Regions from separate parts of the Homo sapiens genome. Here all the other regions are linked to region 1. Evidence: promoter capture Hi-C in 16 types of primary human blood cells and fetal thymus (Javierre and others, 2016). All regions are on one chromosome and are shown on one strand. The core of a region is centred on a gene start or on the middle of the fragment in contact, and the rest is flanking DNA. Distances in the headings are between cores, read along the strand shown.

Region 1 (3,702 bases), core at 900-3,399:
CCACAGCCTGGGGACGCGGGGGGATTTGGGTCCCCGCCGTGGGGAGGGGGATGTGAAACAATTCGAAACTTCCCGCGAGCCAAAGGACTTATCACGGCAGCAGGGGAGTAGGACCCTGACGCTGGCTCCCGACACCCAGAACCCGGAGTGAACCCGCTCGCCGCGACCTAGACCCTCATTCGGGGACCCCACGGGCGGCGCTGGGAGCCGGGCTGCTGCGGGCAGTAAAGGGTTAAGGCGGCGCGCTCGGAAAGGGGAAACAAAAGGCGGAGGCCCGGGCTGCCCCGCCGCCCCTAGGTCGGGAGCCCCCTCCGTCCCCGCGGGGGATGGCAGGAGCCGCGCAGGGGACCCACCCCTCCCCGCCAGCCCCGGGGCGGCCCCCACCGGCCTTACCTGTGATACTGAGCTTGCAGGAACTGGAATTCGTCTTTGATCCTGTCACAAGACTCAGCCACCGTGAATTTAAATCCCGGCTGCCCGGGTTGATGGGGAGCCTGGAGCCCGCGAAGACAAGACAGGGGAGGGGGCGGGGGCATGAGACCGCGCTCAGAGCGGCCCCGGCCCCTCCCCAACGGCGCCCAACCAAAAGAGGCCACCCTCAGCCCAGAACCTTCCCAGCAAGTTTCTCAGCTCTCCGACGGGGCGGAGGGGGGGCGCCCCATCTCTCCCCGTCGGCAGCGGGGCTCCCATGCCTTTCACCAAGGGCCTCCCTCTCCCCAGTAAGGCGGGGGCGGGAGACAAGCCGGGTGAGTTGGGAGACTTCAGAGCGGGGCCGGGGACCGCGTGAACAGCTCCCCCTGGAACACAAGCAGCCCCCCGCGCCACTCGCGCGGAATTAACCTCCTCTCTCAACGGCGCCCCCCGGCCGCATCCCCCTTTGTGTGAGAGCACACACACAAACACACACACCATAAAGGTAGCAACAAGCAAAATGGAGGTGCCAGATAAACTGCCTCGTTTACCCTGCCATGATAGATGCTTAAATAAACCGAGTTGCAATTACTCACCGGATGTCTGCCCTGCGGATACATGGCAGGGAGGGGTCGTGATTCCGAGAGCGTGGAAGCGCCGAGAGCCCGGGCCGGGGAGGTGCGGGGGAGGGGGGAGCCGAGCCCGAGCGGGGGGCGGCCGGGAAACCGAGAGCTCGCCCCCGGCCCCCCCAGCTCGTTCTCGCAGCGAAATCCCAGAGTCGGGCGCCCGCCCCAAGTGGAGACAAAGAGCCGCGGAGCAGGCGGCAAAGTCGTCGGCGGGCGCCGGGGCCGGGCGGCGGGCGCGGGCTTTGTGCGCCTAGGGCTCGGCGGGCAGCGGCCGGCCGCCTTCCCTGGGCTGCGTCGAGCGCGTCAATGCCTGGGACTGCGCGGACATCGTCGGCTCCCCAGCAGGTCCGGCGCGGGGTCCCGAGGCCGGGGGCCCCTCCTGGGGCGAGCTCGGGCCCCCTCCGGGTCACTCAGCGGGTCGCGCCTGTAGGGGGGCGCGCCGGGGCAGCCCCAAGCATCCGGGGCGCGCGGGTCCGATCCTAGAGGCGTCCGGGCCTGGGGCTCGCGGCGAGAAGAGGAAGGAGGCGGGCTACGAGGTGGTGGCTTGGGGCCGCAGGAGCGCCGGAGGGTGAGGGCGGGAGCCCGGCGCGGGCGCTTCGACGCCCCCCCTCGGAGAGGAGAGCCTGCTGTTCCGTCTGCTACTGCCGCTGCCGCCGCCGCCGCCGCCGCTGCAAGCCCTTCCCAGGGCCGGGGAGGAACTCCGGGCTCAGTAGGTGCAAATCAAACGCCCTGGCATCCTAAGTCCAGCGGGCACGGGAAGCCTCCGCAAAGGGTTCTCGCTGCTCCCAGCTTGAGCACCGCGTCCCCACCGAGGAGCGCTCAGCGCCACCGCCGCTGCCGCGTCGGAGCGCACAGGCAGGAGAGCGCTGGAGGGGAGACGCAGCCCGAGACCGGGGAGCTCTACGGCTTCCTTCCTTCCCCTCGGCCCGGCTCTCCTCTCCGCGCCCCGGCAAACCCCCAAAACACACACACCCAACACACACACACGCGCGCACGCACACACACACACACCAAAAAAAAAAGTGCCCCGGACCTACGGATACCACACACAGACAGGCGAAGGGGACGAGCACGAGGTCTGAACTGCCGCGAGAGCAGTTCCAAATAGGGACTGAAAAGTAACAAAATAATGTGGCAGCTTCGTCCGGCGCTGGCCAATGGGAGCGCGGGGCCCCCACGTGGGGCTGCGGGACTCGGCCTACGACTGGGTGCCGCTGGGCGCGACGTCACAATGCCCTCTTGTGTCTAAAACTATGCATGAAAAGTAGCAATCAGGCCCTACCCGCTGGTGACTTTCGCATGGGAGTGAAAAACAGCGCTCCTCAGATCAGGAATTAACCGAAAGACATATAATAAATAGATATATATTATAGTCCTGGGCTGCTCGAGTTTTTTTCCTCCTTTTTTTTCCCACGGTCTACTAGCAAATAATTATTTAGCGGGAGGAGGAAAGAGGGAAGACAGAGGAATAACAACAAAAGAAAATAAGACAAGCTGTACAATCTTCAAAACCTGTGGCTGGTAGTAATGTATCAGTTTATTCTGCAGCGGCGGCGAACGATTCCTCCCTCTAATCTCATTAGGTCTGCAAAGCAGCCCAATTAGATACTATAAAACAAACAATCACTTTGTCACTTTAATGTTTTCACTTCAAAAGATTTAGGACTGATAAAACGGTGGCTCCTAAAGTTGCCTCCGACCTTTAAAAATTTGCTCGGAACTCAGGATGTCCCCTTTTCTTCACCCCTTCTTCTGCCCGCCTCCCCCACATTAGCCCCCAGCTCTCCTTTGTTCACTCGCCCTTCTTTTCAGAAAGCCAAATAAACAGCTCCTTTGATGTGCGGCGGCTGCCTGCGAGGAGAAGTCTGAGGGACTCTGGCTAGGCGGGCAGCGCAGATGGAAGGGCCCGGCTGCCCGTGGACAACAGGCTCAGCCACGGCTGGCCCCATTCGGGGCGCCTTCCCCGTGGGCACAACTTCACCCTCGACGCAGCCTCGCCGCGCGGGCTCCTCACTGCATCCCCAGGCTGAGGGGGTTGGGGATGGGGTCGGGACCCTGCTCGGCCGAGGCCCGGGAACTCCGAGTTCCCACCTGGTTTGCTCAGCCTGCTCCCGGCAGTGCCACGGCGTTGGCGGAAGCCTGTAGGTGTCTCGGTCGCTAGCCTGGACACTCCGAGGGACGCGGACGCTCCCCCGCTCGCTCGCCCCGGCCCCGGGCCCCCCGGACCCCCCGCTTGGTCGCACAGGCCACTCGACTCCGGGGCCAGCTTGCCCGCAAACCGATGGCCTCGCCCTCCCGCGCTCGGGGTTACGGCGGGGCAGACGAGCAAGCAGGGAGTGGACCTCAAAGCGCGCACCGCCCGGTGGACGGCCAAGGCGGGACCCCCGGGGCCCTCCCCGGCAAGTCCGCGAGCCCGCGCGCGAGCCGGCCGCGCGTCCCCGGATCTATATTTTCCCCTCATTAGGAGCCGGAGGTTCGCTTTTGCATCTTAATGAGGAGCTGAGAGCTAGCGGGCGCTCGGAGGCCGGAGCGCGGGGAGTTACACGTGAGCACCCGCCTCAGAACTGAACCTCCCCGCGCCCGCTCCGGCCGCCAGCCCCGAACCGCGCTCCCCTCTTCATTTATTTATTCTCCTAAATAAAAACATAAATCGTGTTTCGGCGCG
Region 2 (3,702 bases), core at 333-2,832, 480 kb after region 1:
CTCAGGACAACCCTATGAGGTCTTTGATTACCCCATTGGACAGATAAGGAATCTGCAATAGAGATCAGTGACATATCCTCTTGCCCAATCAGGATTCAAACTCAGGCAGCTTGCCTCCCAGGGAGAGCCCTTAGCCACGATGCTATTCATCCTGTCCAGGTCCTCCCTAATGTGCTGAACAACTGAGTGTGTAGCCTTTGCTTGCACATCACAGTAACGGGTGCTCACTACCCATAGAGGCAGCCTCCTTTTGCAAGACTGAGGATTTAAAGTGGAAAATTCATCTCTATGTTGAGACGAAGTTTCTTTTCTCTTTTTTTTTTTTGAGATAGAGTCTCACTCTGTCACCTGGGCTGGAGTGCAGTGGCACAATCTCAGCTCACTGCAACCTCTGCCTCCAGGGTTCAAGCGATTCTCCTGCCTCAGCTTCCCAAGTAGCTGGGACTACAGGCGCCCACCACCATGCTGGGTTTTTTTTTTTTTTAAGTAGAGATGGGGTTTCACCATGTTGGCCAGGCTAGTTTCAAACTCCTGACCTCAGATGATCCGCCCGCCTCAGCATCCCAAAGTGCTGGGACTACAGGTGTGAGCCACCACACCCGGCTGGGCCTGAGATTTTGCATTTCTCACATGCCCCCAAGTGATGCTGATGCTGTTGGTCCGAGGACCACATTGTGAGGAGCAAGGGTCTAGCTCAGAGTAGGGCTGAGCAGGCCTGCCACCTATCTCTGTAAACGGTGTTTTATTGGCACACGTCTAACCCATTGGCTCCCACATTGTCTGTGGCTGCTTCCATGCCGCAACTCAGTTGAGTGGTCGTGACAGAAACCATGAGGCCCACAAAGTCTAAAATGTCTGCCCCTTTATAGAAAAAGCTTGCCTGCCCTTGCTTTAAATGACCACCCTTCAAATTTTGAAAAGCTCTGCCCCGTCCTCCACCCATAGCCTCTGAGCCATCTCATCGCAGGCTGAACATTCCAGGCTTCATTACCCCTCCCATCAAGTGCCCTGGGCATCCTGGTGTCTAACCGTGAGCACACCCAGGTTTGCCAGGACCCCCTCTGAAGAAAGAGCCTCATCCCCCAGACACTCCACTATAGGAGTAACTGAGATATTTCTCTTCGTGGGAAGGTCAGCACGTGGCGCCTCCATGGTCCTGCCGAGCCTTCTGCCCTGGGTCTCAGCCCCCGAAAGACATCCTGCCCTGCTCCCTGGCACTCTCTCCCTCCTCCTCTCCTTCCCACACTCTCTGCTGCCCCACTGGCTCTTCAGCTTTCTGCTGAACAGTTGACAGTAACTGCCACCGGATGCTGGTTACCACTCTGGTACTCAGGCCATTAGGAAGTTGGCACCCAGGCCACTGCAGAATAGGCCTTCCATTCTAGAGGCTATCGGGGGAAGCTCTACGTGGTTCCGTCCTTGTGGAGTAGGTGTATCTGGCCCCCGGCTGCTCTCAGAACTAGAAGGCAGGATCTCAGGGCTGGGAGATTACCAGGAGCCTTATTAACCACTGCGTCTGTGACCTCAAGGCCCAAGCTCACTGCATGGGCATCTCTAGTGACTAGACATGGCTCAGAGGGGTCTCCTTGCAACTCAAGGGGGTGGCCTTAAAGACACGGCCCTGCCCTTAGGCAAGGCAAGAAACCCCTTAGCTGGAGTGATCTAGGACTGAGAAGTTCCTGATATGCTCCACACCTTTTTATTTCTTGAGACAGAGTCTTGCTCTGTTGCCCAGGCTGGAGTGCAGTGGCGCTATCTCAGCTCGCTGCAACCTCTGCCTCCCAAGTTCAAGCGATTCTCGTCCCTCAGCCTCCCAGGTAGCTAGGATGACAGGCATCCACCGGCACACCCATTTTTTCTTTTTTTTTTTTTTTTTTTTTTTAGTAGAGACAGAGTTTCACCATGTTGGCCAGGCTGGTCTTGAACTCCTGATCTTAGGCAAGCCACCGCCTCAGCCTCCCAAAGTGCTAGGATTGCAGGCATGAGCCACCAGGCCCAGCCCACACCTGCTTTTTAAAAAATTCGTTTCTGGCAGCTATTGAGCATTTAAAATGTGGCTCCCGTAAATGTAGTCCTGAAAGACTACATTTATTTTATTTAACTGTAAAAAGCCACACATGATGAGTGGCTACTAAATTGGACAGTACAGTATCTAGCTCAGGTATAAAATTCACACATCAAATTCATTAGAATTTGATCTAATTCTGTGACCTCAAGGACGGAGCTCACTGCACGGGCATCTCTAGTGGCTGGGCATGGCTCAGAGCGGTCTCCTTGCAACTCAAGGGGGAAGCTTTAAAGACCCGGCCCTGCCCTTAGGCAAGGCAAGTTCATTAGAATTTGATCATTTCTACTCTTTGGGGCTTGGTCAAAAATTTCCCCGGGGAGAAGTCACCTATGGAGCTATTCTGAGTCACTGGTTCCTCCATATGAAACAAGGCACTAAGAATAGAGTTAATTTGGGAGGCCGGAAAAGGGGGCCCTGGAAGTCACAGGAATCCAGGAAAGAAGGAAAAGAACAAGCTCAGGCCAATTGGAGATCAAAAACACCAAACAATTAACTCTGCCAACCTGGGGACCCCACTAGGACCTTGGTGGTGGCCAATCCAGTTGGAGGACATCAATTTCTACTTGATAATTGGAAGGAAGGGAAGGAGGAAGAGAAGGAAAGAAGGATGGAGGGGAAAGAGCCATTCCTCATTGTCCTGACCCTCAAGGAATTTGTAATCTAGTTCAAGAAACAGAATCACAATAGCTGAAACCGCTGGAGAACAATGAGGTGCTAAGTTGTGGCACTGCCATGTCTAAAGCAGAAATCCCAGGACTGGGGACATGGGTGGGGGCTGAATCGCACTGAAGAAGTGGGAGTGGGCTTGGGCAGGAAAACAAACAGATTTCATTTGGACTAAAGGGAAAGAGAAGACACCCCGGACAAGAGGCAGGCTGGGACAAATGCAAGAGGAGGAGGCATCAGGGCTCAGTGGCAGCAGATCCTGTGCCCCTGATTAGGGTGAAGGGCTGGGGTTGGGGGAAGAGAGGATGAGGGTGGGGTGCCAAGGCGAAGCTGGGCTTGGGGGTCCTGGACAGCACAAGGGCGGGAGTTTGGGCTTCAGTCATTTTCTAGCTTTCTGAAAAGGAAAAAGAAGTTGTCCAGGGCTCCTGCAGAGGCTCCTTCTGCAAAGTCCGTGCAAGCAATGCCAAGGGTCAAGGGGTGGGAGGAGCCAGTGGCTGAGCCGGTGGGTCCTAGCCCCCTTGTGCAGGATGCAGCTCCTGTGGCTGCTCTGAAAGCAAACAGCCCGGCTAAAACGTCTTTAGAACCACTCCGCACTGCGGTGAACCTTCCTATGCAAGCGCCCTCCCTTCTCTCTTTTTGAAGGTGTCAGACTCTGGCCAGCTCCTGCTCCTTGCCCTTGAACCCTGCACCGGCGTTTCCCATTTGGCACATCTAATTCTGTGGTCGAGTCTGCTTCTCATAGGACCCAAAATAACAAAAGAGGGATAGAGAATTCTATTCTCTCCAAAGAGATTACATCCTCCTTGAGGGTTGAGGGCTCTCCACGACCAAAGCAGCCCCTGACAATATCTGCCTCTGGAACACAGGAAGTGCTCAAGGCACAGGAAGTGGGGCTCAGGCCACCAGGAGCAGGGGTGTGGCACAGGCAAGCTTCACACTTTGCCAGAGCAAATCCCAATGATGGCCCC
Region 3 (3,702 bases), core at 537-3,036, 490 kb before region 1:
GGGATTCTAGCTTTTACCTTAGATATCAGATGGGTAAATTGTGAAGACTTTGAATGTCACAAGTAGAAAGATTCTTAGATTCAAGCTGTTCCACATCATTTCCCATATAGGAAAGTGGAAGCCCAGAGGGTGTTCGCGCTGATCTGAGACCACACAGTAAGGTAGTGTCAGAGATGAGACGGGACGAAGTGTGAACCCCCCAGTTCATTAGTCAATTGTTTCTTTGGAACAGAGCATCTAATAAGTTACACAATAAGAATCTGAGTTTTAGTCTTACTGGCCATGCTGGCTGTTTGGTAACTGGTGAGATGGCCTGACGGGAGTCTGTTTGCAAGTGGTGGCTGACAGCCCTCCACGGAAGAGGTGCATCCTGAAGGGGGAAGCCATGGACGATGATTTTACCCAGTGGTATGTGGATTGACATTATGGACATAGCACGGCAGTTGTTTGTTTGTTTGTTTTCTTTTTTTTCTTTTTTTTTTTTTTTGAGACAGCATCTCACTCTATTTCCTAGGCTGGAATGCAGTGGTGCAATCACAGCTCACTGCAGCCTTGACCTCCCAGGCTCAAGCAATCCTCCCATTTTAACCTCTCAAGCGGCTGGGACTACAGGCACGTACCACCATACCTTGCTAATATCTTTAAATTTTTTTTTTTTTTTTTTTGTAGAGACGAGGTCTCACTGTGTTGCTAGGGCTGGTCTCAAACTTCTGACCTCAGGTGATCCACCCGCCTCAGCCTCCCAAAGTGCTGAGATTACAGGCGTGAGCCACTGTGCCCAGCTGGCAGTTGTTTTTCAAGTCTGTTGTCCACCTCGGTTCCTGGACACCATTTGAATGCTCTCCCACGGAGAGCAGAGAGAGAGAGAGAGAGAGAGAGAGAGAGTGTGTGTGTGTGTTTTAAGGGGAGGAATCTACAGTAGAATCTGAAAGAGCTCTTTCACTCATCTCTGAGTCACACTGAACTCCAAGCAGCACTGCTGTGGGTTCCCCATAAGGGAGCATAACAGAGAGACAGCTCTCCCACACCCCACTGTATTTATTATTATTATTACTTTTTGAGATGGAGTCTCACTCTGTTGCTTGGGCTGGAGTGCAGTGGCGCAATCTCGGCTCACTGCAACCTCTACCTCCCGGGTTCAAGTGGTTCTCCTGCCTCAGCCTCCTGAGTAGCTGGGATTACAGGCGCCCATGACCACTCCCGGCTAATTTTAGTAGAGACAGGGTTTCACCATGTTGGCCAGGCTGGTCTCCAACTCCTGACCTCAGGTGATCTGCCCACCTCAGTCTCCCAAAGTGTTGGGATTACAGATGTGAGCCACTGTCCTGGCACCCAACTTTGTTTTAATTCTCTTTCACCCGATTTCCTTCTACTCTTTTTTTTAAAAATTGAAGCAGTTGTGCAGTTTTTTGCAATGTTCAGACTCTGATACTTATGACTCCTTACATCTCAGATCAAGCCGTGGGAAGGCCCGGGCAGGGAATATGATATCCAATGGTCAGTGGAAAGAATGCACTCAGGGAAGTCAAATACATGGTCTAAGTTCCCACAGCTGGAAAGGGATGACCAAGCAGTAGGCTTGACTCTGAAGACCATGCCGTTTTGATTTTACCATATTGGGACTCTCTCCCTCTGCCAACCGTTCCTTTTTCTGAGTCTTTTCCTATTCTTTTTCTCTCTCATCTCTCAACCTTTCCCTTCTTCACCTCCATCTCCCCCATCCTCTCTATCTCTCTCTTTCTCCTTTTCCCCTCTCCCCACTCTTCTGAAAAGCCACAGCTTCTCTCTGTTCTAATATGCCTAAGACATTGTCCCAGAAACTTTCTTATGTGCTTCTTGACACCCAGAGTGACTGAACACAGGTATGTTTGTTGGGAGAGCCTCTGCCTCCATGGGAAGAGAAGCTAACTGGTTGACTTTCTGCTACTTGTACCAGCCAAGGGGCTATTTGCAGACAGTACATAACAATGACAAAGCACCATAAGACATTGAGCAATCTTTCCTTGCATCAATTAGATTCTGACATCTGCTTACTGTTTAATTATCTTTTGACTGAGGAAATGGAAAAGTTGACAAGTAGTTCAACCCAACAAGAGTCAGGTTCCTTATTTTTCCCCCTTCATGAGCATGTTTTTAGAACACTGATCTGCCAGCATCTCCTGGTCTCTCTGGGGCACTGGCAAAAAATACAGACAAATATTTATGTTCCATGAACTCAAGAAGGTTTTCATATTGTTTTCATGTTTAACTGATTTCAAATGAACGACAATGGCTCTTAATGTGGTTACAAGAATTTGCCATTAATTTTCACTTGAAATTGGATGCAGCCGGTGTACATGCCTATACTGTATTCTAGTTCTTAACGATTTGCCTTCCAAAAACATAGGCTGCTTCCTACTGGCTGATGGGCACAGCAGCTTAGTGAGGGTATCGATCTCCTATTACATGTGAACAAAAATTAAATTGAGAATATCACCCTATTTCAGAGTGCTTTGCCTGTAGCATTTGAGGCAGGCGGCTGGGACACTGAATGAAGAGCCTGGGGGAGGCAGGTTCAGCATGCCACCGTTTCCTGGTCATGAAGATGCCAGCTCCAGCTCCAAGCAGGTGACAAGGCTGGGTGGCCAGGGGACATGGGAGTGTGGTTCGAGGTCTCAGAGCATTTTAAAAAACTTCCGTTGTCTTTCTACCTTGGATTTCAGGAGCACCAGGGTAATGTTCTAAACTTCTTTGTGAGGTTTAAAGTCTTCCCTCCCTTGGTCTAAAATGTTGAAGTGGGTGGTGGAACAGAGAGGTGACATGAAGATGAGAGTTGAGCCAGAGGAATAGGATTCTCCATCTTTGGGGACGTCATTTAATTTTGGAAACACTCAGTTTCTGTTTAAGCAGTGTAACCATATAATTTGTTGAACACTTTTGAAGGGGTGAATGTTAAATTGGATAGCATGTTGGGAAAATGGGCTTAAACTGGAGATAAGGTCGACCTATGAATAAAGAAGGGATTAGGCCACATAGCGGGGGTCAGGGGTGGTAAATAGGTTTCATACCCATGGTAATTATGGAAGAGCCATCAGGCTTTCTGGACTGCATTGTGGAGGGGATGGTGCAGCTGCTTTTGAGCACCATGGAAGAGTTTCCTGATTGATTAGCAATGTCTGCTCTAGTCTCTGGGAAGGATGGCTGCACCCTTGCGGGTATTCACCATTCCTGGATTGGATGTCTTCAAGAGCCTTTTCAATTCTATTTTTGAAATAAGAATAATTGAGAAGTGAATGAAGCTAACCTTCTTATTTAAATGCCCTGGAGTTTGAGACCTGGAAAGCCAGACTGAGAGGCCTATGGCAGTGCTTTTCCAACTGAATGTGTACACTTGAATCTTGTCAAAATGCAGATTCTGAATCAGAAGTCTGGGCTAAGGCCCAATAGCCTCAATTTCTGATGAGTTCCCAGGTGATACCGATGCTGCTGGTCTGTGGGCCACACTTTGAGCAACAAAGACCTAAGGCAGCATCCTGAACCTGGGCCAGTGCCCCTTCACTGCAGGCTCATAGCCTGCAGAAGAACCTGTATATATGCTACTTTCCAAAGATTTTTTTCCGCAGGTCATTTAAGTGATTCCTCCAGACAGCCTTTTAATGTTTGATAGATTATTTCCCGCCCCCATCACCCAGTTTTTTTTTCCTAAATGTGCTTTTCAGGTGC
Region 4 (3,702 bases), core at 310-2,809, 460 kb before region 1:
ACACTCAGGGCAGAGGCTAGTATGCAGTCACTTCTCTGTTCAGGTAGTTCTTCCATTGCCGGCATCTCCCCTCCCACCTACATTTTCTCCTTCGCTGGTGGACCCCACTGCCCTGAATCTGATCAGACATCCTTGTGACCTTCTGATTGTCTCCCCACCCACACTGAGGAAAGGACTGAACCCTTGGGGACCATAGCTTTTCTTTCTCTTTCTGTCTCTCTTTGACCAATTTTTTGTTTTTTGTTTTGTTTTGTTTTGAAGACAGACTTTCACTCTTGTTGCCCAGGCTGGAGTGCAATGAAACGATTTTGGCTCACTGCAACCTCCACCCCCTGGGTTCAAGCGATTCTCCTGCCTTAGCCTCCCAAGTAGCTGGGATTAGAGGTGCCCTCCACCATGCCTGGCTAATTTTTGTTTTTTTGTAGATATGGGGTTTCAACATGTTGGCCAGGCTGGTCTCGAACTCCTGACCTCAGGTGATCCACCAGCCTCAGCTTCCCAAAGTGCTGGAATTACAGGTATGAGCCACTGCGCCCAGACTCTCTTTGACCAATTTTCTTGTGAATTATCACTGGGAACATTGCTAGTGAATATATTCTCCTCTCTGATACACAAGATAAATACACAAAAATCAATAACTTTCTTATGGACCCACAATAACTAGTGTGAAAAGAAAAGCAAACAAAAACATAATCTACCTCTGAACAATTCTCAGTGAGAAATGTGTAAAGCTTTCATAAAGAAAGTGACAAAATTTTATGAGTTTTGTGTAAGAGAAGACCTGAATAAGTGGAGAAATATGACGGGTTCTTGGTTGGGGAAAAGGAACAACGAAAGATGTTAGTTTCTCCTGAATTAATACATAAGTCTAGCAAAACCTCAATGGAAACTTTTCATAATTCATCAGAACAACTTTACAATGAATCTGGAAGAATGACAAGTTAAAAACAGCTAAGACATTTTTGAAAGAACACGAAGACAGGATTTCCTTTAACATAGATTAGAATATATTTTAAAGCTACAGCAACTGTCCAGCAAGGTACTGGCTCAAGAACAAGTCAGCATCAGTGGCACATAACTGACCTCTGAAACCAAACTTACAAGCAAAATGAAATAAAAAGAAGCATTGCAAATCCATGAGAAAGGGTTGGATTAACAAATGCTGTTGAGAAAATTGACTACTTGGAAGCCAATCTTTTTAGATCTTAATCTTTTTCTCAGGCAAATTCCAAGCAAGTTATAGCATTAAGTATTTAAAAACCTCATAGCAAAATATGAAAGTTTAAGTGAATATTTAAATGATCTTAAAGTGGGTAATACATATTTAACTTAAGAACAATTGGAGAAATCACGAAGGAAATTGTCAGTAGAATTGCCTACACAAAGCTCTAAATGTATATTTTTAAAAAAGAAACTACAAAAATAAAAAGGTAAATGACAAATTGGGAAAAATGCTTGCAACAGGTATGGCGAAAGGCTAATAGCCTTAAGAATACAAAGAGTTCTAACAAAGTCTAAAGAAAAAAAGGACTAACATCCCAGCAAAAAAAACTGGCAGAGAACATTCACAAAATAAGACATACAGATGGCTAACGTATGAGAAAATGTTTAATTTTACCATTAGCCAAAGAAATGAGAAATAGAACAATAATAAAATCCCATTTTCACTTGTCCAGTTATTAAGATTGGAGATGATGATGATGATGATATGTGTTAGCAACTAGGTGATGATATTGGAACATAAATTGGCACAACCTGTCTGGAAAAATTTAAACAGTTTTCATATTTTTGGACTCCATGGTCCTACTTCTAGGAACCCATACTAAGAAAACACTGGCAATGAGATCAGGATGTTCATGAGAGCATTATTTATCAGACTTAAATATTGGAAATAATTGTTATATATGTAACAAATGAGGATTGATAAAATAGAGTATATTTATATTGTAGAAAACATTTTTAAGGCATATATTCAAAAAATACTTAATAACATGGGAATGTGCTTGCAATGGATTGTTAAACTTTTAAAAAAAATAATCAAAGCTCTGTGTGTGCGTGTGTGTGTGTTTGTGTGTTCATATGTATGTGTGCTGAATCTGAATTTTCTACTCTTCTGTAGGTAGTCGGGAGAGCCAGAGTTAATATGATCTGTTATTTACCTTCATGCCCTCAGTCTCCTCACCTGTGAAATGGGATCATAATGCTCGACTCTCAGGGCTGTGTGAGAATGAAATGAGACCGCTTATATGAACAGGATGTAGGTCTAATCTTTCATGCATCTGTGTCTTCCCTATTCAAGGAAGTTGGCTTTTCCTAAGGGCAGGAACTGTGTGACTCCTTGACCTGTAAGAGAAAGTGTTGTACGGGGTGTTCATTAGGATCTAAAGTTAAGCTTTAAAGTTCTGGGACCATGTTGAGTTCCAGCCTTGACATTATCTCATGCTTCTTGCATGACTTTAGGCAACTCACCATCTGCCCATGGGCTCCAGCTCCTTGGGATCAGATGAGAAAATGGCTATGCTCCCTTCAAGAGCTAACAGGATGTGATTCTCTTTTAACCTCACAATTAAAAGTCACAGCCATCTCATAGTTTGTCTGGGTCAGGGATGGCCTCGCAGGGCTCTCAGGCTGGGCTACTGCCCATGGACAGATGGATTGACCAGTGGAAGGATGGAGTAATTATGCTCACACATGGCAGCAGGGGTCTTCTTCTGTTTTGTCCACTTATGTGTCGCCAGTACCCAGAGCCGGGTATGGCTTTTGGTGAATGCTCAGCACTCATTGACTGAATGAAGAATGAATGGAAAGATGGACTGATGGATAGATTGCCTGCAAGACAGGCTGTGTGGCTGACTTGAGATAGTGTCCTCAGGACCTCCTTGACTGGCCTTGGACCCATTAAGGAGGGAAGGAGAGAGGTGAAGGTAAAGGTGATGCAGGAGGAGAGAGACCTCCTGCATCATCTTTGTCTTCCTTGGACAGCCTGGTGGAGGCTGGGGTTTGCGTCTCTCACTGTGTGCATGCTGAACAAATCAAAAGTCATGGTCCTGGGAGCCTGAGCCTCATCCTGTGCTACATGTTTTACATGGATTATATTATTTGGAGCTCACTTAATCCAAGGAGGGTAGTATCATTATCCTCATTTGCATATAAAACAATGGCCTCAGGAAGGGAGGAAAATTTACGCCAAGGTCACACAGCTTTTTAGTAGAGGAGTTGGGATTTGATCCTAGGTCTTTCTGATTTCCAAGCCATTGACCTTGAAGTTATACTCTACAAGTGTTGCTCTCCTTAAACTTCTCCCTTTTGTAGAAAGGAAAGACTCCACTTTTGCTGTGTGTGCATCTTGGGAGGAGTATGGGCTCTGCCCCTAAATCATAGCCTCAATATGAGTGCTGTGCTGGGAATGGGCCATCAGCGTGGTGACGGATCCCCACCGTCCATCACGCCCCCGCAGCATTGTGACATGCAGTGCTGGAATGTAATCAGAGTGATGGTGTCCTGATCTATGGGGATGTTCATCATCTCAGGGCTGGTACCTTGACATATTACCGTAGCTTGCTGTCAGTGGGACAGCCCCTTAATGTATTTCCGTAATACATCACCCACTGATGGGGATCAAGGAGGCCTGCTGATGCTAGTCGGCTGGAGCCCTTTCTGTGAGTCTCCCTGACTTCTTGTTCTCTTAAAGATTCATGTGAG
Region 5 (3,702 bases), core at 341-2,840, 440 kb after region 1:
GGACTGACCCCTGGGCAGGATGTTTCCGAAGTCTATGGCCTGTCTCAGAATCAGGCTGCCTCTCACCTGTGGCTCTGAGGCTCCACAGTTCTTCCAGGCCTGGGGACATTCATCATACATTTTCCCACTAAGATATTCCAAGAGGCATCTGGGGACCAGATCTAGGAAGCCCTGAGTGGGAGAGAATTCCAGCACCAGGAAAGGAGGCCGGGTATTTTCTCTCTCCCTGAGGGATTCAGAGGAGAGGATGAGGAAACTGAACTTCTTGAAAGAGGGACACCTGTAATTCTCAACTCACTCCCCAGCAGATACAGGTCATGCACATGCACACACCTGCACACTCCAGCTGGGACCTCTGGCCTTCCAGGTCTCGCTCCCAGGCCCTGGAGTCTGTGGAGAGAGGCCTGTCCCTCCATGTAGAGGACAGGAGTTCTCCATGGTCTCGTTAGCCATCCTGCACCCCCTCCCACTGCAGCCATAGGAATCCATCCAAGCAGGGATGGCAATGAGAGGGACTTGGCCTCAGGCACGGGAGCGTTTGCCACGGCCAGGCCAGCTGTCAACTCCAAAGAAGCCGGAGTTGCTGGAGAAAGTGACAGACGACGTCCCGGGGAGCTCACGAACCCCATCTGCCCATGGCCAGGCGGAGCAACACCCTTTCAAGACATCCAGCTGAGGCATCTCAAGCCCCCAGCTGCACAGCTTGGTGAAGCCAGCAGCTCCTCCCAGGTTCTGGGAATTCCCAGAGCTTCCCCTGCTGTGGGATCCTGGGGCCATCACCACTTCACATTGAGGGGGGCCATCACCACCTCACATTGAGTCGATGGAAACTCCCCTTTTCCACATAATAAATAAAGAAATAAGCCAATAAATAATCACACATACTTGCCTGGTCCATCACACCAACAGCTGAACTTACTGAAAACACTGAGGTCCTGAAAAGAGACCACATCCACACCTTATTGCCAGCAAGTTAAAAAGCTTCTTAGTTCCTGACACACGGTGAGTGTTTCTCCCCAACCTTCATGGGCTCTTCTCTTCCACCCTTACTCAGCCTCTCTTCTCGCTCATCCTGCCCCACCCTCAGGAGCAGTGGAAATGGCTCCCCTGGCCACATTGCAGCCAAGCTCCTGCCACATTCCAGCAGGGCTATGTACAATCATCTCTCACTGCAAGGACCACCTTTGGTCTGCTCCTTCACCCCAATTTATTTATCAATGTATTTTCCCTCTTTTTTTTTTTAACCTATAAGTTTCTGCATGTTTCTGTGTGCTTAAATTCTACATAAGATTTCTTCTAAGTTTGAAAATCATGCTGCCTTTTTCTAGCCAGCATAGGTGAGGTTGCAGCATAGGTGAGGTTGCAGCATAGGTGAGGTTGCAGCATAGGTGAGAAATATGCTGCCTTTTTCTAGCCAGCATAGGTGAGGTTGATAGCAGATTTTTTAAAATCCAGTTTTAGAGATGAGAATCCAGCAACTCAGAGAGGCTAAGTACCTTCCCCAGGGTCACACAGGCAGTCAGTGGAAGAGTCAGGACTCCCACTTGAGTGTGGTTGCCATTGCAGCCGGAGATCATGCAAATGAGCCACTCCTTCTTGTCACCTCACCACTCCTGAAACAGAGTCAATAATTTATCCAGAACCGTTAATTTTCTAAAAAAAAGTCAGACATTTCTATCAGCATTAGTTTCTTTCATGTTCCATCTGTGATGAGGACAAGCAGAAATACCATGCTGCTTACTGACATTCTTATGTGGCTTTAGGGGCTCCTTGGGGCTAAGCTGCATGTTCACTGGGTTAGAGACAAATGACACTGCCCTGCACCTACAGTTTCAGAGTGAGAGTAGAGGCCAGGGGCTCGGAAACTCACAACCCCAGACTGCCAGAGTGGGGCCAGGTCTAGAGTACCTCTGGTCTGGCTCTATGAATTTTAGAGATGAGGAAACTGCAGCCCACTGTTGTAGCAACACAGGCAGGAGCCAGGGATTCCAGGAATTTGTAACCTTCTGTGTGTCCTGGCCTGCTCTGGTTCTTTCTTGTTCTCAGCAGGTAAGTAGGAGAAGCATTGCCAAGTATGGGGTAATGAGGAAGGTTGTCTTGCTCTTCAAGCCTGATGGAGATGCCTGATTGTCTGAGACCAGCCTCATCCACCACTCCCACCATTTCCATTACTCCCTACCCTGGCTTTCTTTGTGGGCAGAAGCTTGCAAACATCCTTGATTACCCGGTGATTACCCTAATCACCCAATTACCTTTACCCAAGAAGTGAAGGGCAGGAGAGTATGTTCACATCAGCTTGACTTTAGTTCAAGCTCCTGTAGAAAATGGAGAGAAGTAACAAGCATAGCTGAGATCTCTCTATTTCCTGAGGCTAGAATAAGATTAGGAAGACTTCAACTCCAATCTTTGAGCATTAACCCTCACATGCATGTGAGGAAACTGCCCACGGCTGGGCAAGGAGTAGGTCAAACAATCCCCAGAGCTCACACAGAGCCTGCAATAATTTTTAATCCCAGCTTCCAGAGTGAAATAGACCTCCGTATACACAGGGCATCAGGTAAAATCCTCAGAAAACTATTGCCTTAATAGTGGAGTGAAATTAGCCCTAGACCAAAGACTGTCAACCCATGTCAACAAAGTGTAAAAACAAGTTTTAAAGGGATCAAACTGATTTCAAGCAACCTAACTGCAATCCCAGAACAAAGCCCAACAATAATTAAAGGAATGCAGCAAAATCCAACACCCAACACAGTAAAATCCAAAATGTACACAGTCAAAAATTTCCAGGCACATCTGCTCTCTCCTCTCCTATTTGACATTGCACTGGAGATTCTGGCAAGTATATTAGGCAAGCAAAAGAAATAAAAGGCATCCAGATCATAAAGGAAAAAGTAAAAGTATCTCTATTTACAGATAGTGTGATATTATATATAGAAAACCCTAAGGAATCTACAAAAAATAAACTATTAGAGCTATAAACAAGCTTGGTAAAGTTGCAGGACACAACAACAGTACACAAAATGTATGTAAAAATGTAGCAATAACAACTATAACATGAAATTAAGAAAGCAATTTCATTTGCAATAGCATCAAAAAGAATAAAATACTTAAAATAAATTTAACCAAAGAAGTGCAAGACTTGTATACTGAAAACTAGAAAACATCGTTGAAAGAAATTAAAGAAGATCTAAATAGGTGGCAAAACATCTTGTGTTCAGGAACTGGAAGTCTTAATATTTTAAGATGGCAATACCGGCTGAATATCTCTAATTCAAAAATCCAAAATCTGAAATGCTCCAAAATCTGAAACTTTTTGAGCATTGACATTATGTCACAAGTGGAAAACACCATACCTGTCCTTATGTTATGGGTCATAGTCAAAACGCAGACACAGAACACATATTCAGTGTAACCAAGGGGAAAAGACCCCTCAGCCTCCTTCAGCTGTGATAGATCTTTTCTGCACACAGCATGATGGTAATGCCAAACAACCATAGATTGTCCACATGAGTGGCTGAGATGGTGACACCTTTGCTTTCTTATGGTTCAATGTATACAAACTTTGTTTCATGCACAATCTTATTTTAAAATATTGTATAAGAATACCTTCAGGCTGTATGTAATGTTTATATGGAACATAAATAAATTTCATGTTTAGACTTAGGTCCCATCTCTGAGATATCTCATTATGTATATGCAAAT
Region 6 (3,702 bases), core at 810-3,309, 440 kb before region 1:
CTCTCCTATTCTGTTCCATTCTAGTTTGCTTTTTTCGTCCTACTTCTTTCTATCTGTACCATACTATTCTTCTTGCTTCTATTCCATCACATCCTGCCCCAGTCCACACTGTTTGCTCGATTCTCATTGACTTCATCTCATTTAGTCTCACTCCAGCACATTTCACCCCGGTACTTTCCTCAAGCTTTTTGGAATACCTGCTTTGTGCTCAGTCTTCTTCAAGGGAGCCATGCGATTATGAGAGAAAGAAACATCATCCTGGGCCTGAGATGACCCCTCTAAAGGGTGAGTGAATGGGGAGAGAGGAGAGATTGACATCGGGGTCTTCACTGACCTATGATGGGGCGTGCTTGGTTAGGAAGAGAAGGCAATGGCATGAGAGGAAGCAGGGAATGGGCCCTGGAGTGTGGGTGATGCTCTGAGGACTTTAGCATGGGAAACTTAAGCAGGAGCCTGGGGCTGGGGCAGGCAGAGAGTACAAAGTAATGGGAGATCAAGGTGCAAAGGTAGGTTTTTCTCTTTCTGTGGTTGACTGGTGCTTTGATGTTTTCAAAGAAGGACACTTGCATGGTTTGGAAATGACTGTTGGGACACCATCCAGCCTGCTGCCATCAGGACATCAGAAGAGGCAGTGTTGTCCAGTGGAATGGGAATCCCTGGGGAGGCTGCTTAGCCTTTCTAAGCCTCAGTTCCCACATCCGTAAAATGGTCATAATAACACCTACCTTGAGTTTTGTGAAGATAAATAGCTTAGACTCCTGTGCAGAGGGTTGGCAAGCACTCAGTCCAGCACCTGACCTATTGTAGGTGTCCACGCAATGTTCACCCTCTCCTACCTTGCCACTGATCACTCTAGTCCACCCTGATGTTACTAGGTTAGCTCTGAAATCAGTTCTCCCCATTGTGAAATGGAGACAGTGTGAAGCAAGCAGGAAGTATTAGAGAGGCTCTGTAGAATTGTGGTTTTGAGCTTGAAGGGTCTGGATGCATGACAAATGTTTGTTGATTGAATGATTGATTATAGCTCCCTACATCCACCATAATACTTAGCATGGAGGTGGGAGCACATAGGAGGTACCTAATAAATAACCATGGACTTGTAACAAATATAAAAAGAACCTGAAAGAGTAGAAGGTGGGTGACACCCTTTCCAAAGCAGACCAGACAGGTAGATGCTGGGACTGAGCTGATGAAATTTGCACCAAACCTCCAAATATATTCAGAATCAGGGAATTAGGAGACAACGGAGGAGGCTGCCAAAAAGAATTTATCTCTGAAGTGGAGCTTGGGGAATAGCACTAATATTTTCGGAAATTGAAACTCCAACCATGAAATTGCCTATCATTTATCATACATGGTCTCTCAAAGGGGAAACGGGAAAGCATTTAGTCTTATTGCTTTTTAAACACATGATTGCTGAGCATAGCCATCCAGGCTGAGGTTTTAAGAGACAATGTGTCTGAAAGAGTCTGGCCAGCAAGTCACTCCAACCTAATGCAAGGCTGCTCTCTGCAGACTCTCCTATGCCAAGCACCCTGAGCCACGCGTGGTGAGGGTGCAACCCAGGCCAGGCTTGGGTGACTGGGTGTGGTGCCAATTCTAGCTTTCATAGAAAACTCTAAGTCTGAATTTTCCCCCAGCTCCTTCTTGATGCCCAATAGCTATCTCATTATTAAAGTCATTTGCACTTTTAGTTCCAAACTTCTTTGGAAAGGGTCCCACTGATGACTTCCACTTCCACCTCTATATTGATGCTTATCAAATTTCTCTTTCCTAGACCTACTGGGGATTTCAGGCCTCTATGTGAAACCACCACCCAGGTCTCTTCAACTGAAATGCCCATAGGTTCATCAAATGCAGCATGTTTGAACTGTAGACAACATTCTCCCAAGCTTCCTGGCTTGGCAAAAGGCATCCCTGCTGCCCTGAGAGCTGGAACAGACTCTGAGACACAGAATGACAATCGCCCATGTGTGTCAGCAGTTTGAAGGTGGCATTCTGCTATCACAGGGCTCATGATAGTTGATCTCCCAACAAGGGGCAGGTTGAGAATATCCACTAGTGGATCTGAGGTCAGTGAATAGGAAAGGAGGCTGGGGACTTTCTGGAGCAGCTCTTATACAGTGAGCCCAGTGTTTGCACTTGGACTGATATATGTTTGAAATTGTAAGGGAGACAGGAGGTGAGCACAGACTAAAGTCCTCTCAAGCCACCCTTCTGCTCCCAATAAGCTTGTAAGGAGAGCAGGGAAGGAACTGTTAAATTGTTATTACCATCCATAGATGAAGAACCTGAGTTTGCAAGAGACTGTATAACTTATCCAAAGCCACAAAGCTAGAGGTGGTGTCCATGAGATTCCCACCAGGCCTCCTGATGACCAGCATCGTGTTCTTTCTCCTGAACAGAGAAGTGCCCAGGACAATGGCCAGTACACTTGACAGCGAGTCAGAGGATGTGAGTTCTCACTCCTGCATGGCCACTAAAAATACCCAGCTACTGCCTGCTCTGCAGTCCTTGAGTGGGCCCTGGGAAATGGGGGTGTCTATGAAGCAGCCCCCCTGGGGCTCTGCACTCTCCCTGGACAGTGCATTCTCACCTCTGGCTACAGTGACCATCTCTGTACTGATGACATCTGGATCCTCATCTTTAACCCAATCTGTAGGACACCTCTCTTGGGAAACCCTACAGGCACCACTAAGTGAATATGTGTTTTGGGAATTCCAAATTCCTTCCTGGAAATCTTCATCTCGAGCCCTCATTAACTTCCTTCCCGCCAGAAAGGCTCTCAAGTTAGGTTTCACTGATTTTCTCTCACATTTCTTCCAGAACCACCACCACAAATGGTTGTCATGAATGTGCCTTTGCATTCTGTGAGACTACTGTTGATTTTTGCATTGTCCTGCATGCTATCCAATGCCTCTTGTATAAGGATCACTAAGGCAAATGCCTGCTATAATTGAGTCCTGGCCAGGGTTGGGGGTAGGCTGGACACTGAGATCTCTGGAAACAGCAATATTTTTCCTTTTAGTAAACATCCAGACTCAAACATTTCCCTTCATAGCTTGATTACCAGAAAGCTCAGACAAAATGAAGTGCTCCATTCTAGCAATTGTATTAGCCCACATTGTAATATATATTTTTCTTTTTCTTTGTACATGTCAATTTTTTATTGTGGTAAAATATGCATAGCATAAAACTTATTTATTTTATTTTATTTTTTTTGAGACGGAGTCTCGCTCTGTTGCCAAGCTGGAGTGCAATGGCACGATCTCGGCTCACTGCGACCTCCGCCTCCCGGGTTCAAGGGATTCTCCTGCCTCAACCTCCCAAGTAGCTGGGATTACAGGTGCCTGCCACTCTCGGCTAATTTTTGTATTTTTAGTAGAGATGGGGTTTCACCATGTTGGCCAGGTTGGTCTCAAACTCCTGACTTCAGGTGATTCACCTGCCTCTGCCTCCCAAAGTGCTAGGATTACAGGCGTGAGCCATGTGCCTGGCCTAAAACTTATTTTTTTTTTAAACTATTTTTAAGTGTACAGTTCAGCAACATTAAATGCATTCATATTGCTGTGCAGCCATCACCACCATCCATCTGCAATATTTTTTCTTTTATTAAAGATCCAGACTCAAACATTTCTCTTCATAGCCTGGTTACCAGAAAGCTCAGACAAAATGAAGTGCTCCATCCTAGCAATTGTATTA
Region 7 (3,702 bases), core at 487-2,986, 420 kb before region 1:
ATGGTGTGGGTAGGCATTGCCTTGCTGTGGAATTAGAAAGTATTCCTACCATTATAATTTTGTGCTAAATAGTGAGAATATAAAAGCTTTCCTATTTTCTTTCTTTTTTTCACCAAGCTTTCGCATGACCCATACCTGCGCTTTTCTATAACATGTCCACGTGTTAAAAACTCAGCCATTTATCAGAAAAATAGGGACTGACATCTATTTAAAAAATTAAATTGCGCTGGAGGATAGGAACCAAGAACCACAGTAAAAGCTGGGAGGCTTTTCTCCTGTACTCCAGGAGGGTGGCTTTTCATCCAGAATGCCCCAGGAGAGACGGTTGACCATTCTGGATGGCTCCTTCGTCGCTTCGTGAGAATCAGCTGCCTCCGTAGGAGATGCTGGGCCCTGTAGCGCAGGGATCCCACTTAGACTTCCCTTTATGGGTTCACATGTGGCTTTGTTTATAAACACAGTATTTCAGGGGGAAAGGCAAGCAGGCATCACGTGCCAGGAGGTAAGGGAAGCACAGAAGCAGGAATATCTAAGAGGCCCCTGCAAACCTTTTCTGGCCATTGATGGCAAAAAAGGATCAGGGTTTCCCTAACTCACCTCCTTGCAACCTGGAGAGCCACTAGCATCTTTGTGTACACAAGGGCCAGGTTTATTTTGGGAATCCTTAAATGTAAACCCAATACAGCAGCGATGAGAGTATTTATATCAGCAGCAAAGTGCAAGAACAGCCTGTGAACTGGAAACCTCTTGGACTGGAAAAGTCCAAGTGCTCAGAAGAAGGTAGGTAGACCAGCATTTCTCAAACTTAAATATGCCCAAGAATCCCCCTGGGGATCTTGTTTAAATAAAGACCAAGATTCTGCAAAGGGCCTAAGATGTTGCATTTCTAAAAGTGCCCAGGCAATGCTGCTGCTGATGCTGGTCCTTGGACCCCACTTTGAGTGGTGAGGGTGTAGGCTAGGTCCCTTTTTCCAGGAAGGCTTATATTCAGGTTACTGGGCTCAGGTGCTGTGATGGGGGTTGGGGGGACGTGGTTTCGTGTTGGCTTCCAGATTGTGCCTTAGATGGACATGATTGGCTCATACAGGATGGTGGCCGGGGGTGCTGGGCAGGCATGGGCATGGGACAGAACACAGGACCATGAGTCAGGAGAAGTGGATTCTCCTGGCACCACCTGGCTCCCCTACTCAGCTGTGGAGTAGTAGAGAGTATTTGATGACAGGGAGGTCATTGGCAGCTTTCAGAAGAGCAGATATAAAGTCTCTAGGATGTGTTAGGTCAAAAATCTAAGTGTAATGGGGTGTGTATGGTAGGCTGACACTGAGTAAAGAAAGTGAGGGACCACATACACATAGATGAGTTTGTGTAAATGGAGAACTTCTCATTCTGAAAAGATACACAAGAAACCATAAACAGTGGTTGACTTTGGGGGGGAGAAACTGAGAAAGAAGATACATGGAGCAAGAAGAGACTCCCTCCAATTGAAACACTCACTTCTCTGACCACAGTGATTGGTTCAGTGGGCTTGGACCTGTGACATGCCCTGTTCCAATCAGAGTGAGTCTCTGGATATTTGCTGGACTGTGTTGTTCTCCATCTCATTCCAGTGAGACTCACTTGTCAACATCTGCTGATATCTGCCATCCAGTGTGTTGTTCAGACAGTTGTTCCCCTCCTTGCTGGCATCAGCTGGGACATGACAGTGTCCTCATCTGATCTCACAGGACATCCTCTCCTGTTGTTGTGAGTCCCCTGCGAGGCTCTGCCTTTCAGGTGACCCCTCTGCCCCACTCCTTGTGGGCATGGAGAAGCCCATCTATTCTCTCTGCACCAGGCTGAGTGAGGGAGTGGCACTCTCTGTGTCCATATGTCTGGGCTCCTCCACTGGACAGGGATCTCTCTCTAAGGTTTGCTATCATCCCAAGGCCCCTCCCTTCTTGTTTCCCAAACTGGCCAGAGATTTCTGGGTCTGATACTTACTTCCTCTCCCACTGAGATTGGACCACAGGAGGAGTGAAGCATGTGACTCCTTGTCCCTGCCTCACATATCAGTAGCTCCTTCTGCTGCTCTCACCTCTGCCTCCGCCCACCCCACCCCTCTTAGTTATCCATGTCTAATCTCGGCAGCATGGCAGTCTGGTTCTCCAGCTCTCCTTTTTCTAATCTAGACTTTATGCCCCAATTCCTTCAGAGCTTTGCTTCTGATGATGCTAAAACTAGGCTTTTAGAACTGGAAAAAAAAAAAAAACAGTTTTTGCAAATCAAAAGCCTTATCTTTCAAGAACTTGTCTCTGCTATGAGTACCAAAGTTCTATTTTGAAATGAAAAGAGTTGACTGTTTCTCTTCTCCTCACATTCCGTGTTCCTGATCTAACAGTCCTAATCTTGCTTGAGGCCAGGCACCTTCGCCTTGGGTACATGGGTGTGGGAAGTATGATCTTCCTGCTGTGGCATCAATGGCCCTTCAGCTCCCCGCAGCCTTCCTAAGTTCTGCAGGGGAATAGGAGAAAACAATTTTGGAGTTGGGGCACCCAACTAGTGGCAGAAATAGTCCCACTTCTGCCACTCAATTGTTGTGCGACCTAGGGAGTGGCTGAATCCTTTTGAACCTCGCTTTTCTTATCTGCAAAATGGGGAGAGCAACAACCACCTCTCAAGGTTGTTTCAGGATCAAGGCAGATAACATATGTGAAAGTGCTTTGCAAATCACAACGTATGGTATAAACATGAAGCATCATTACTTTCCAGTGTTCTTAACTTCTTTGTGTAGTTTTCCCTGCCAAAGGCTTCTGTCTTGAGCTCGCATGGCAATTTGCTCACAGAGCCATGAACGTATTGTATTGTGCCGAACTTATATTTTAACATGTCTGCTGGCTTGCACTGTTTGTGAGTGCTTGGAGGGCAGGGACCACACCTATGTGATCTTGGCACCTCTTGCCTTCAGCCAGTGTCTGAAGTAGGTGCCCAGCATGTGTTTGTTGATGAAGGGGTAGACACTTAGCAAGTACTCAGTAGATTCATGTAATATAAATAAATAATTAGCCAGGAGCAGCAATGGGCTGGAACTTCTGTAGACTAGTGGTTTTCAACTGGGAACAATTTTGTCCCCTTCCTCCCAGTGGGTATTTGGCAATCGGAAGATGTTTTTGGTTGTCATAACTTGGGGAGTGCTACAGATATCTAGTGGGTAGAAGCCAGGGATGCTGGTAAACATCCTACAATGACCAGGACAACCCCCTACAACAAACAATTATCCAGTCTAGAATGTCAAGAGTGCCATTGCCTAGAAACCCTGCTGTAAGCTCTCTTTTTAAACAGTCCTGAGAAATAAGTCCTGTGAGTCCAGAATTGGAAGGGAAGCTTAGACTTTGGGTTTAAAAATGATGTCTTGATTATCTTTGATGAATGGAAGGGGGTGGAGATATGGTAGCTAATGATGAAGATTCTGAAAATTATTACTAGCTGGGGGTGGGAGAGGAGAGAGACTTTGGAAAATGTCCAGCTGAAGAAGAGAAGAGGGTTGGCATCGGACAGGATAGGGTGGGGCCCTAGTGTGCTGGGAGGCACTGAAGGAACCTCTGAGTAGAGAAGTTAAGCATGTGTGCTGAGCTCTATGATTGTCCATTAATTCCCTGTCCTCCTTCTGCAGGAGGCACCTGTTGAATTCAGGCATCGGCATGTGACTTGATTTGGTCAATGAAA

What was found. Contacts are between HindIII fragments. The CHiCAGO score rates a contact against its expected background, and 5 or more counts as called.
Region 2: a contact is called between a fragment that was not itself captured here and the fragment with the promoter of TLE3 in region 1, in 1 of 17 cell types (fetal thymus). The highest score is 5.1, in fetal thymus.
Region 3: a contact is called between a fragment that was not itself captured here and the fragment with the promoter of TLE3 in region 1, in 2 of 17 cell types (neutrophils and M2 macrophages). The highest score is 7.0, in neutrophils.
Region 4: a fragment that was not itself captured here is called in contact with the fragment with the promoter of TLE3 in region 1 in 2 of 17 cell types (total CD8 T cells and neutrophils); the score reaches 6.0 in total CD8 T cells.
Region 5: a contact is called between a fragment that was not itself captured here and the fragment with the promoter of TLE3 in region 1, in 4 of 17 cell types (fetal thymus, non-activated CD4 T cells, total CD4 T cells and 1 more). The highest score is 12.5, in fetal thymus.
Region 6: a fragment that was not itself captured here is called in contact with the fragment with the promoter of TLE3 in region 1 in 2 of 17 cell types (total CD8 T cells and activated CD4 T cells); the score reaches 5.2 in total CD8 T cells.
Region 7: a fragment that was not itself captured here is called in contact with the fragment with the promoter of TLE3 in region 1 in 6 of 17 cell types (non-activated CD4 T cells, total B cells, total CD8 T cells and 3 more); the score reaches 7.1 in non-activated CD4 T cells.

The regions. Positions count from the first base shown.
Region 1 is chr15:70,095,768-70,099,469 of GRCh38, forward strand. TLE3 (TLE family member 3, transcriptional corepressor) reads right to left here and starts at 2,150. Exons shown (of 20, transcript NM_001105192.3): 1 at 1,008-2,150; 2 at 394-494. The coding sequence starts at 1,031. RefSeq lists silencers at 139-568, 1,289-1,408, 1,419-1,588, 3,178-3,257, 3,328-3,477 and enhancers at 2,408-3,382, 3,470-3,702. The HindIII fragment of the contact is 8,963 bases long and covers 1-3,702 here.
Region 2 is chr15:70,577,175-70,580,876 of GRCh38, forward strand. All of the region lies in intron 1 of LINC02204 (long intergenic non-protein coding RNA 2204), which reads right to left. Among named protein-coding and RNA genes, the nearest start is that of LINC02204, 7.6 kb to the right of the region's middle. RefSeq lists an enhancer at 2,260-3,063. The HindIII fragment of the contact is 1,418 bases long and covers 874-2,291 here.
Region 3 is chr15:69,608,469-69,612,170 of GRCh38, forward strand. The region is part of intron 1 of PCAT29 (prostate cancer associated transcript 29); the gene reads left to right. Among named protein-coding and RNA genes, the nearest start is that of PCAT29, 18 kb to the left of the region's middle. The HindIII fragment of the contact is 8,868 bases long and covers 1-3,702 here.
Region 4 is chr15:69,632,854-69,636,555 of GRCh38, forward strand. All of the region lies in intron 1 of PCAT29 (prostate cancer associated transcript 29), which reads left to right. Among named protein-coding and RNA genes, the nearest start is that of PCAT29, 43 kb to the left of the region's middle. The HindIII fragment of the contact is 1,661 bases long and covers 730-2,390 here.
Region 5 is chr15:70,539,718-70,543,419 of GRCh38, forward strand. No RefSeq gene overlaps it. Among named protein-coding and RNA genes, the nearest start is that of LINC02205, 36 kb to the left of the region's middle. The HindIII fragment of the contact is 1,222 bases long and covers 980-2,201 here.
Region 6 is chr15:69,651,578-69,655,279 of GRCh38, forward strand. The region is part of intron 1 of PCAT29 (prostate cancer associated transcript 29); the gene reads left to right. Among named protein-coding and RNA genes, the nearest start is that of PCAT29, 61 kb to the left of the region's middle. The HindIII fragment of the contact is 339 bases long and covers 1,891-2,229 here.
Region 7 is chr15:69,673,897-69,677,598 of GRCh38, forward strand. PCAT29 (prostate cancer associated transcript 29) reads left to right here. Exons shown (of 4, transcript NR_126438.1): 3 at 3,650-3,702. Among named protein-coding and RNA genes, the nearest start is that of PCAT29, 84 kb to the left of the region's middle. The HindIII fragment of the contact is 3,243 bases long and covers 116-3,358 here.